4 separate regions of the Homo sapiens genome follow, and all the other regions are linked to region 4. The links are contacts of gene promoters, found by promoter capture Hi-C in blood cells and fetal thymus (Javierre and others, 2016). All regions are on one chromosome and are shown on one strand. Each heading gives the region's core, a stretch centred on a gene start or on the middle of the fragment in contact. The rest is flanking DNA. Distances are from core to core; before and after follow the strand shown.

Region 1 (3,092 bases), core at 160-2,659, 220 kb before region 4:
AAATGAGTCAGGAAAAGGCTGAGACCTCAATCGGTAACAATTCCCCAAAGCTGTTGTAAGACTTTGCATTAAAGCCTTCCTTTTTCCTGATGTGCCCTGGGTGGATGGATCTTTGCAGGAGCCTGGCCTGCTGCCTTTTAGTTACAACAGCAATGTGGGATGTGGTATCTGTGCCTTGTCCTGGGACCAATGGCACAGAGGGTTATAGCATGAACTGAAGGGTCCATGTCACAGCATAGGTGCCAGCACGAAACTTGTAGATGGGGGGTGAATTCCAGATAGGCTAATTCCCTGGTTGGTGAAACCCTTGGTTAGTATTTGATTCCCAGCATCTGTGTGTCAGGCCAGAGTGGGGGCTGCTGAAGGCAGAGCTTTTATGGATGCCTGCCACAGACGTGGTACATGGGCCCACTTCACGATAGAAGGATGAAGGTAAATCAGCCTCTATTATGTAGCATCCAGCTGGACCTAGCTGATTCTCAATGTATGCCATCTCTTCATCCAGTCTCCTTATCAAGCTCAGGTGGGATTCTGAATTTTCCCTAATATGCTGCTCTGTAAAGGGAGGAGTCCAAGAAAGCCTGGCCCCAGCTGGCTTAGAGTAGGCTTGGCGATAGTGAAAATCCAGTATATATCTCCTCTGTGTGGACAAGGTTGCCTTGCTCCTCTCAGAGATACCACCTCTGCTGCAAAGTCAAAGCATGGGGTTTTGACATCAGAAGGGTTGGAATTGGGTGGTCTCTACCCCAGAATGGCAATTTGGAGTGCAGCTTCAAGTTCTGCCCTCTCCACAGATTCCAGGCAATCCTGAAGCAGAGATAATCAGTAGTACTAAACTTTCAGAAGGGGAGTTCTGCCACCCCATTCCTCCATCGAGAGGTCTTTGCAGTTGTGGTTGTGAGGCCAGAGGAACTTAAGAAGAATGAGCTCAACATTCCATTCCATCCAAGGTTGCAGAATACTTTGAGTATGGAGATGACCGATCCCTTTAACCTTTCCCTTTGACTACACTGCATGCCCTGTGAGTGGCTGCTCTGAGCTTTGGCGGGGGATGAGCAGGGTGAAGGTGAAAATGTTCTCTGATGTTGGTTTTTCTTAGGGTCTCTTCTCTCCCACGTTTCTAGTCCATTGGAAGTTCTCCAGATCCTCTAGATTTCTGACCTCTTTTTACATTCTAAGAGGTGTCATTTACCTGTGGGTGAGGGGCTTGGAGGGCCTGACTATTAAGCTTCCTATTATGATTGGGGAAGGGGACTCAACATCTTCCCCTTGTCTGGTCCTGGGAACTCAAGACTGCTGTCCATCCTTTATTAGTAACCTAGTTTTGTTGAGAGAGAGGTGCAGCATTTCCCTCAAGTACCTGCATGCTCATAGGTATGCATGCTTATAGGTATGCATGCACACCAGCACCTTGACTTCCACCAGGACAGTGAATCTGTAGTCCCCATTAATGATACTCTCAGAATGGTCTCCACCAATGTGCACAACTTCATGCACACAATTGTATTCCTCTTTAGGAGAGACAGTGACCATGCCAGGCTCTTCAAATACACACTCCTGTATTTTCATTTCTGAACTCCCTGAAGCTTCACCCACATCTCCATGGCACTGAATCACTTTTCTGCCCAGGCTGGAGTTAGAAGAACCATGGGTTGAAGGCCTTGGGAGAAGAGGTGGTAAGGAGCTACCTGGTTCTTTGGACTCCTCAGAAACCTCCCGTGAAGACTATATATATGAGCAATATATGAGCAATTAAGATAGAACTAGGTCATTGAAGGACTCAGAAGGAAACTGGCAAGGGGCTAAGTAGCTGTGAGCTGCTCTTCCTGTTAACTGTCCTCAGGAGAGAAAAGTTGTCTTGATTTATTCCAGAGACTCCTGAGAATTTTGTTACTGGAGCTATAGGAACTAGGACTCCCTCCTCAGACTCATCAGGAAATCTGGGAAAATCTCATCTCCATGCTGCAGTCTCCCCGCTTGGCACCATCTAGGGCTCTGAAGATCTTTAAAGTGAGCGTTAAATGAAGCAGGCCTTCTGGGGCATCGTGATGGAGCTCCTGAGGACTGGGAGGGCCGTTTTCTTCATAATTCCTACCCAGTTTAGGGAATGAGAAAAGGCCCTGTGGCTCTTAAGTCTCCTGACTATATCCACTAGTTTGGCCTTGAGTTTGAGACACCTGGTAGATGTACCTGGCTGCCCTACCAAGAGATTTGATTTGTTTCTTCCCGTGGTTTCAGGTGATAGAACCCAAAGGTAGCTTTTTAATTGGAGAATTGAATAATCAGCATATGTAAGCGCACTAGAACCCTGTGTTGAAAACTGCCAGGTGTGGGTATAAGAAAAGGCCGAGAGATCACCACCTCCTCTTACCCTACCCCACACCCATAAACCAGACATGTCTCCCAGGAAGCAGGTGTCCCTGGAGACAGAGGATGACAGGGCTCTACAATCTGTGTAATTATTATTATTATTATTATTTTGTATTTATGGGGCCCAAGAAAGGGGCCAGGAGAGGGTACACCCCAGCTGGGGAGAGCAAAGCAGATGGATCCAGTTTTCTGTGTGTTCTTACCTCTGTACTTCCTCGTAGCTCTGCTGACAAAGCAAGCAGGCCTCCCGTGTCCAAGACCCCATTCCTCCCACTTGTGTACACCTAGGCTGGCAAATCTTGGAGCCTCTGGGCTCTGAAAACTAGACAATGATCATTAAACCTGGCTTGAGTCTCTGTTCTGGCACAATCTGACTGGTTTATTTTTTCAGCCTGTGGGTGGGGTTCACTGTACCTCAGAAGGGTGTGTCCTATCTAGGAAGAAAATCTTTAAGTGCTATTGTACGGACATGGGTGAAATACACATCTAGGCATTAAGATGGACCGGGGTCAGCAAACATTTTCCCTAACGAGCCAGATAGTAAATATTTTAGGCTCTGCAGACCACACAGTCTCTGTTACAACTCAGCTGTGCTGCTATAGCTTGAGTGTAGCCACAGACAGGACAAAAATGAATGACTGTGGCTGTGGTCCAAAAAAGATTTGACTTATGGACATTGAAATTTGAATTTCATATTTTAACATGCCTTTTGAGTTTTTCCA
Region 2 (2,773 bases), core at 126-2,625, 200 kb before region 4:
AATTTCAGGTGCGCCTTTTGGGACTTCAAGCCCAAAGCAGGGCAACACACATCAAGAAACAAAAGCAGCCATGGGCATCTGGGAGGCCAGAGAAGCCAGCTGTGAGATGTGTCTGGCTGGCGCCCTGGATCTAGGTGAGAAAAGAGTGAGAAAGAACTTCACCTCCTGGGCATGGGCTCCCTCAGCCTTGATCAGGAGACACAGGATGGAGAGAAGCTTCCCAGGAAGCAAGCAGGTCAAGAGGTGACGGGGCTCCTATACCCTACAACCTGTGATGGCCAGGCCCATAAACCTGACCTCCTCCTCATCCAGCCCAAGGACAAAGCAGCCCAAAGGAGTCCCCACTCTACATTCTGGACCCCCAAGACCACAACTACTCACGAGCCATCTTCCGGTGGGTTTTAGGGGGCAGCCTGGTCCCACTGGGCTCCTTTTCAGGAGGGCTGCCTTCAGCCCAGTGACTGGACCCCTCACTGGGGATGATCTCGATGTTCTCTCTGCCAGGAGGTTCTTTAGAAGGGGGAGCCATGGGAGGTTTTCCAGGGGAGTCCTTGGTGAGGCCCCCTGGCTGGCTGAGAAAAGCAGAGGGTGGGGCCACCCTGATTCCATGTCCATCAGGCTTCGGGAGACTGGACATCTTCTCCAGATTCACCACAGGCACGAAAAGGCTACACACAGAGAGAGGGGGTTGGCTGAGGGAGGGGAGGGGAGGCGAGGCCTGGGGCCTGGACTCTAGCCCAGAGCCATCTCTTTCCCAGCCCTGGAATTTGGGTGGGCTCCAGCAGGGGTGTGAAACACGGGAAGAGGAGACCCCATCTTCCCTGGAATATATGGAAGGAAGCTGCAGACAGGACGGCTGCCTCCTGCTGTGAGGAGTATGCCTTGACCCAGGGCTGTCTGTATTGATGTCAGCCCATCCATGGGTCAGGGTCAGGGCCAGTCTTAGAAAGTTTCCAGCCTCTCCTTACCAGAGGTTGTCCTTCTGGGTCTTCTCAGGAGGCTGGTGGCCACGGCTCCGGGACCCCTGGCCCTTCTCCCTGGAGGAGGTTTTCGTGGAACCTGGGGCCCTACAAGCTGGGCCCTGCCCATTCACTACATGGCATTTCTGAGAGCTGGCAGGGGCTGGAGGTGGGGGTGGGGCCCGGCCATAAAGCTTGCTGAGGGGCCCATGTCTTCTTTCTGTCACCAGGAGGTGGAAAGAATAATCAAGGTGAGTGGTATCACCACTTCCTTCCCCAACCTAACCATGTCCATAGACTCACATGAGAGAATCTGAGTTTCCATAAATTAGATTGTAAACATGCCTCCTTCCCATTTGAATCTGAGCCTTTAGGACTCAAAATTCAAGACCCAGCTTCCTGAATGTCTTAACTCCTCCCGTAATTCCACTGGATGCTAGAATTTTGTTCAAACAATAACCCGACTCCCCACAATGCTCTGAAGCCACCCCCACAACCTTCCTATCCTCAACACCACCCTCCATTACCCTACGAGACCTCCCAACTGACCCTGTCCTCAGAGTTCCATGCTCCACCTTCCCCTGTCCCTTTATCTCCTCCCTAGGGCTCCCCTCACCGCAGTGCTTCTGGAAAGCTTGAGGCTTCACCACTTGGCTGCAGTGGTTACACACAACCAAGTAGAAGTCATCATGGGCAGGGCAGTGCCCGAAGATGGACATGTCTGCAATGACAGAAGCCCATGTCACTGGGGCTGAAGATCCCAGGGTTTCTCTGGAAGATCGGAGAGCACTCCCACCCCACACTCAGAAGGCACTTCACCTCCCCGCTGATATAACAAGCTCCATGCTGAATGCTTCCAGCTTCCAGAGTTCGATCTAAGCAGTCCCAAAGGGTATACGCTTTCAGGTGAGTGGGCAATCACCTATGATTATGATCTCCAACGACAGGTCACAGGAGCCAGAACAACCGGCCGACTCGGACCTATCAAAATGAGGGTCCCCAGACAGCTGCTTCAAGCAGCCACCTCCTTCTGTAGTGTGGTGGAAAAGTGGAGCGTGGTCCTGTCTGCCCTGGGTCCCAGCCCTAATGTGTGTCGACTCCCACCTTCTTTAATGAGGGTCATGGCATCCAACTTCTTCGTGTTTTTGCTACTCTCCTCCAGCTCAGCCCCTAGAGGAGAAACACAGCTCAGAAGGGTCAGGGCCAGTTTTAGAGAGTCTCCAGCCTCTCCTTACCAGAGACTGTTCTTCCCAGAAGACAACCCAGAGGTTGTCCCCTTTCCAGAAGCCCCAAGCAGGGCCTGCAGCTCAACAGTATGAAGCCCACACTCCGTGACAAGCTCCTGGTGCTAGGACCACTTGGGGAACCTTTCAGTGGGTCCATTCTCAAATGCCCATCTTCCTTCACCTGCTGCATCTGGACTAAGATGGCCCCACTAAGAAGAATCCATCCACCTTTCTTATGGGACCCTTCACTTCAAGGTGCAGTTTAGGGTTCCACTGCTAACTAGTTGGGTGATTGTGGGTAAGTATCATCTCTTTTCTGGGCCTGCTTCCCCATTTAAAGGGGAAACCGTCCTTAACCAATGTTTCTATAAGTCCCTGAGTCTCTTCTTGAGATTTCTCGATGGGTCCTTTCTGCTACTATGTGGCATCCCAAATAGATACTCTCCCAGGTCCCCACCCCCATGAACTCAATTTTGCTCCACCTGGGTTACCATAGCATTGTCAAAGTTACACCCAGCTTCTCAGGTCCTGCACTGATAGGATGGTCACAGAGCAGAGAAACTGCTGTCTTTGGTCCTTGAGCATCTT
Region 3 (2,987 bases), core at 367-2,866, 190 kb before region 4:
AAGGAGAGGTAGAGGACCTGAGACAAGGGGGAGTTCTAGCATTCTGGTGCCAACCAGCCTTTCTCCTCTTGGACCTCCATTGCTGGGACAGCGACGGTCATTTTCTGCCCTCCGCCTCCTCTTGCTTCTGCATCTCTTTTGCAACCTTAAACCTTTCCAGTTTAAGGATGAGGCTCCCCTTTGGCACTGACATGCTCGCTGGTGATAATCCTGTGACAGTCCTGAGGACACTAACATCACCAGTTAGCTCAGAGCACAAGGAAGACAAATTCTCTCCCCAGGTCCTACTCCCACGCTTATCTCATTGTTTTTTGTTTTGTTTAGGCGAGGTAACAGGCTCATGCCTGTAATCTCAGCACTTTTGGAGGCTGAGGTGGGAATATCACCTGAGCCCAGGAACTCAAAGCCAGCTGGGGCAGCATAGCAAGACCCGATTTTTACAAAAATTTTTTACAACTTAGCTAGGCATGGTGGCATGTGCCTTTGGTCCCAGATACTTGAAAGGCTGAGGTGGGAGGATTGCCTGAGCTTGGAAATTTAGGCTGCAGTGAGATGTGTTCGTACCACTGCACTCCAGCCTCAGCGATAGAGCCAGTCTCTATCTTAGAGCCTGTCTGAAAAAAAAAAAAGATTTGATATTTACTCACTCAAGGTTCCAGAGCTAGAAAGCAAGAAAGCAGAGGGGACTCAATTTAAACCGAAGCCTATCTGACCTCAAAAATCTGTCTCTATCTTCCTTTTTCTTTTGTTTTATTTTCCTTTTTTTTTTTTTTTTTTTTTTTTTGAGACAAGGTCTAGTTCTGTCACTCAGGCTGGAGTGCGCAGCTCATTGCAGCCTCGACCTCCTGGGCTCAATGATCCTCCAGCCTCAGCCTCCCAAGGAGCTGGGACCACAAGCATGTGTCATCACACCCAACTAATTTTATTTTTTAATAGAGACGCGACCTCCCCTTATTGCCCAGGCTTGTGTCAAACTCCTGGGCTCAAGCAATCCTCCCACCTCAGCCTCCCAAAGTGTGTCTTTTTCTTAAAAAGAAAATTTTTTTTAAGATACTTCTTTTCTTTTCTTTTTTATCTTGAACTCCTATGATTTGATGTCCTTTTCTTTTTTAAAAAAAAACTAGTTCTCCAATAATTGGTCTATGTCCAGGTTATTTTTGCTAGCTTAGTATAGACTTAGTGAGACTCCAGAATTGGAATTGAGGTGAGATTAGTTGATTTCTCAATTAAAAAAAAAAAAACTCTAAGATAAGCTCCTGACAAATAAAAGAATAACATTACTTTCTTTTCACAAAGATTCCAGTAAAATCTTTGCTTTTTGGTAATAATGACAACAAAAGTTCTCAATTACCATTACAATAACTGCAAGCTTTGTGTTTTCTTTTTTCCTTCTCCAATCAGGAGCATTTGATCCCTCCAAACAGGAAATGAGTGAAAAACTCAAATGACATTTCCACTGTCATTTCTGGTGCTAATGCCTGTTTACTTTTTATGTTACCTCATCTGCAGAGCTTCAAAGCAAGTGAAACTGGCGCCCTGAATTCAGGCTACCTGGGATGGCAATAAAAGCAAAGCACGTTTCTTTGTGATGCTACCCTGTGAATGAAATCTGAATTCAGAGTCTAGCCCAGGGCCCAGGTTTTAGCATTCTGAGAGAAAAGGGTCTCTGTTTTGCACAACCCCCTTTCTAAGTACTTGAAGATCATAAAAGTCTATCAGATCTTAATTCCTAGGTCATTAGTGCTGACCCCAAGACTGCATCATTTCCCTGGGCATTGCTTTGTACAGCCTTTACAGAAATGTTGTGGGTATTTGGAGTGCTGCGTGGAGGGAAGGATGGCAGGATTGAAGAAGGAAGCTTTTCAGAATCCCTCCAAGGGAGAGGAGTCCATGGTCTAATAACCTCATTGTTTCCCTTATCCTTTGACAGTCTGTCTCAAATTCTGTTGGATCCATTTGTCTAATTTAATGGTAAAATTGCTTATAATGGCTCTTCCAGTTCTGGATGCCAGTCACTCAGAGCCTTAATATCATTTTTATATGGCTCCCTCTGGCACTTGAGTGGTGGATCAGAACAGGGAAGGGGCCAAAGGCAAAAGAGCTCAATCAGCAATTGGTCTAACCACTCTTGAGGCAGTAAGAAAGGTGGAGAGTCCCCACCAGGTCCCAGAGTTTGCACTTGGGAGCTCCCAGGCTGGCCCGATAATCCCAAATGCACTTTTGCCCCTGGGTTCCAGATTTGATTATTCTCATCCAAACCATGATTTAAGAACTGGTGTCACAGTGCTAATTCTTGTCTCCAAAGCCCTGTAGAACTCAATCCTCCTCAGTATTAATGGTAACTTATTCCCTAGCTGAATTCTGTACTGAGAGCACATTAATTAAGTTATTCACACACCATTTGGTATGTGGATTGTCTAATTTAAAATCTCTTCTGCAATAGTGCACTAAATGCCCCCTACAAGTCTTTATGATTTGAGAAATTGACTGCACCTGTCCACATTCCTAATTTATACCCAGGAGGCCTTAGGCACTGGCCTAGTGAAGCAAGATAGTATTTCCACTAGACTGTAACAGGGGAAACTGAGGACCTGAGCAAGTGACTTTTTCAAGGTCACAAAGTAAGTCTAACCTAGGGCCATATTCTGGCACACCAAACTATTTAGAGCATAAGGAGACCCTAGGAAGGTTCTGATCAACATCTAACTAGTGTTGGAAATTGAAGTCCAGAGAAATGAATTGCCCAAGGTGACATAGCTGGAAAAGGCCAGTCTAGGTCTGGATCCCAGGGCCCCAGCTTCTCAGATCAGTGTTCCATTTTATTCTACATGCCACATTTTAGCCATGCCGTGATTTTTATTCTTATTTTTTTCTTTTATTTAATCATAGAACCACAAGCTCCGTTCATTCATTCATCCACTCCCTCACTCATTTACAGGAACTCGGATTACTCCAGTGACCTCAAAAGGGAACGGCGAGCCGAGAGC
Region 4 (3,113 bases), core at 614-3,113:
AAGTTCACGCCATTCTCCTGCCTCAGCCTCCCGAGTAGTTGGGGCTACAGGGGCCCGCCACCACGCCCGGCTAATTTTTTGTATTTTTAGTACAGACGGGGTTTCACCGTGTTAGCCAGGATGGTCTGGATCTCCTGACCTCGTGATTCGCCCGCCTCGGCCTCCCAAAGTGCTGGGACTACAGGCGTGAGCCACCGCGCCTGGCCTACTTTCTTTACCATCTTGGTTTCTGGCAGATTTGGCCGGCTTCTTTACTGCACCGTTTTATTAGAGGGATGTTTGAGATCTGTATCTTGTGCGGACCTGCTGTCTCCTCCTGTTGTTACCAGAAAGGGGTCCGGATCCAGACCCCAAGAGAGGGTTCTTGGCCCTTGCATAGGAAATAATTCAGGGCAAGTCCATAAAGTGAAAGCAAGTTTATTAAGAAAGAAAAGGGATAAAGAATGCCTACTCCAGAGGCAGAGCAGCCCGGAGGGCTGCTGGTTGGCCATTTTTATGGTTATTTCTTGATTATATGCTAAACAAGGGATGAATTATTCATGAGTTTTCCGGGAAAGGGGTAGGCAACTCCCTGGAACTAAGAATTCCTCCCCTTTTTAGACCATGTAGGGTAATTTCCTGATGTTGCCATGGTATTTGTAAACCGTGGTGATGCTGTCTGGAGTGTCTTTTAGCATGCTAATACATTATAATTAGCGTATAATGAGGACTGAGGACCTCCAGAGGTCAGTTTCATCGCCATCTTGGTTTCGGTAGGTTTTGGCTGGCTTCTTTACCGCATGCTGTTTTACCACCAGGGTCTTTGTGACCTGTATCTTGTGCCAACCTCCTATCTCATCCTGTGACTTAGAATGCCTAACCTCCTAGGAATACAGCCCAGGTCTCAACCTTATTTTACCCAGCCTCTATTCCAGATGGAGTCGTTCTGGTTTGAAGCCTCTGACAAGTTCACTGGTGGCCCGGGCAACATTTAGAAACAACAGAGACAACACTCCTAACAAGTTGGTTTAAGCATTTTACAAATACTGCTTTTAGTTCAGAGGGGGCTACTTACAAACACCCCCTCTAAATCCCCTAAGGGCACACGGTAGAAAACGCCTTCATAATTATCCTCGTAACACCGTAACTGCGAGGACCAACATCCTCCTTTCACAGATAAGCGAAGAGAGGTGAAAAGAGGGCAAATATACTCAAGGCAGCCGCCTCTAAACCGAAACTTGGGTTCTGAGGTCAGTTAAACTTGGGTTGCATTTGAACCTAAGCCTGCCTGCGTGAAAAGCCCGTTGCTTTCTTTGCACCTCAGCTGCCTCAGGTTCTTGAAGAGGCGATGGAGGATGTACTTCTAAGAGAACCTCAATATACCTACAATATAAGTGTTTAGGTGCTCCCTTAACTTGGAAAAAACCCACAACTGAGGAACCTCGGCCAATGCGGCGCCTGCATATTGAGTGCGCCCAAGAAAACGAATTTCCTCCCGTAGAGCGTCGGTTAGCGGCCACGTTAGGCAGCACAACCGTTCTGGAGACTGGGTGCTCGGCGGCCCAGCAGAGGGAGCGGGGCGGGGCGCGAGTTCCATACTCGTGGGTCCGTTTCTTCCCTCCTGGCCAGCCGCGCTCTGCTCCCATCTGCCTACGGGAAAGAGAGTCTCCGCGCACGCGAGCACGCGCACTCGCAGCCTCAACCCTCGGCTCCGCCACCGGGATGCAGTCTTCTGGGAACGGTTCTCCCCCAGCCCCCACCGGCTGACTTCCGGCCGGCAGCTCCTCAGCCCCTCCCCCTGAGGATTCACCAATCACGGTGCGCGTGTGGCTTGAGTAGGTGGGGCCTGAGAGATTCGAAAGGAGCCCCGCCCCCTCGGAGCTGATTCCCGGGACTAGGTTGCGGGAGAAAGCCTGTTGCGTGGAAGATAAGGCGGCGCGGGAAGTGGACACAGGGTGGGCTGGAGGTGTGCTTCGCGTGTGATGCCAGGGGAGTGGAAAGGTGGCTTGGGGAGTGCAGAACCCTGAGGATAGTGGCGGGGAGGAAGATGGGGCGTGCAGGCCGCCCCCAGTGAGGAGAGGCCAGGATGCAGGGCGGCTCCAGGGCAATCTGGGCAGTTGGGGGAGCCCTCCGTATCGTTCCCGGAGGTAGCAGGAGTAGCTGTGCGGGAGGTGCCACTCCTGGGCGCTTGCTTTGCCTCCAGCATGACCCCCGACCCTGGCTTGCACCCTGAATCTAGCTGCGAGCCTTGGGCAGAATGGATACCTGAGGAAAGGTATGGTTTCTCTCCAGCTCAGATCTAACTGGACTCTCGCTCCTGCTGGCTGGACATGGAGGATTTGGAGGAAGGTAAGGAAAGGAGGGAGGGAAGAATGAAAGGGAGGAGTGAGACCCAGCGATGGAGAGCTGCATCAGGGACCCATGACTGGCTTTCATTCTTCTTTCCCCTTCAGATGTAAGGTTTATTGTGGATGAGACCTTGGACTTTGGGGGGCTGTCACCATCTGACAGGTACCAGCCTCTTTATCCCACTTATTTTCCTCTAACAGTACCTCTTTGTCTCGAATCCCTTACTGCTGAATTATTGGCTTGGGTTGGTAACTTAGCAAGGTTTGGCGCACTTGGGGCTGCTGGGCGGCTGGCTGACTCGGGCCTCTATGACACTATTGGTAGCGGGGAGAGAAGGGAGAAGCTGGAGTTAGATTTCAGGGTGTTAAGAAGAAGGATAAGTGGATTTGCTGCATCTCCATCCTGGCATCATTTCTGATGTCCGTAAATGCTAAAGGCCTATTAGGCCCCATAGAACCAGGTATCTCATCGCCCAGAGGCCACATCTCACAGCCAGCATGGGCATCGGGGCCTAGGGTCATGTCCCTGGCTCTGTTGTGGGGCTTTTATGCAGTCTCCCTTGCATAATCTCCTGTTCCCTTTTGCATGGGCATGATGCCTGGTTTGTTTCCTGTCTCAGCCGTGAGGAGGAAGACATAACAGTGTTGGTGACTCCAGAGAAACCACTTCGACGGGGCCTCTCCCACCGAAGTGACCCAAATGCAGTGGCACCTGCCCCCCAGGGTGTGAGGCTCAGCCTAGGCCCCCTCAGTCCAGAGAAGCTGGAGGAGATCCTCGATGAGGCC

The links. The method cuts DNA at HindIII sites, captures the fragments that hold promoters and counts their contacts. A CHiCAGO score of 5 or more calls a contact.
Region 1: a contact is called between a fragment that was not itself captured here and the fragment with the promoter of PSRC1 in region 4, in 1 of 17 cell types (fetal thymus). The highest score is 5.5, in fetal thymus.
Region 2: a contact is called between a fragment that was not itself captured here and the fragment with the promoter of PSRC1 in region 4, in 1 of 17 cell types (total CD4 T cells). The highest score is 5.2, in total CD4 T cells.
Region 3: a contact is called between a fragment that was not itself captured here and the fragment with the promoter of PSRC1 in region 4, in 2 of 17 cell types (total B cells and erythroblasts). The highest score is 5.5, in total B cells.

Annotation. Positions count from the first base shown.
Region 1 is chr1:109,503,822-109,506,913 of GRCh38, reverse strand. It overlaps AMIGO1 (adhesion molecule with Ig like domain 1), which reads left to right. Exons shown (of 2, transcript NM_020703.4): 2 at 1-2,736. Among named protein-coding and RNA genes, the nearest start is that of AMIGO1, 4.4 kb to the left of the region's middle. The HindIII fragment of the contact is 358 bases long and covers 1,231-1,588 here.
Region 2 is chr1:109,485,413-109,488,185 of GRCh38, reverse strand. It overlaps ATXN7L2 (ataxin 7 like 2), which reads right to left. Exons shown (of 11, transcript NM_001350175.2): 2 at 2,064-2,129; 3 at 1,576-1,680; 4 at 969-1,179; 5 at 382-668. Among named protein-coding and RNA genes, the nearest start is that of ATXN7L2, 2.9 kb to the right of the region's middle. The HindIII fragment of the contact is 440 bases long and covers 1,156-1,595 here.
Region 3 is chr1:109,467,625-109,470,611 of GRCh38, reverse strand. The region is part of intron 2 of SYPL2 (synaptophysin like 2); the gene reads right to left. Among named protein-coding and RNA genes, the nearest start is that of SYPL2, 2.6 kb to the right of the region's middle. The HindIII fragment of the contact is 489 bases long and covers 1,372-1,860 here.
Region 4 is chr1:109,281,895-109,285,007 of GRCh38, reverse strand. PSRC1 (proline and serine rich coiled-coil 1) reads left to right here and starts at 1,863. Exons shown (of 8, transcript NM_001032291.3): 1 at 1,863-1,945; 2 at 2,272-2,328; 3 at 2,433-2,490; 4 at 2,948-3,113. The coding sequence starts at 2,310. RefSeq lists enhancers at 1,352-1,401, 769-1,494. The HindIII fragment of the contact is 13,254 bases long and covers 1-3,113 here.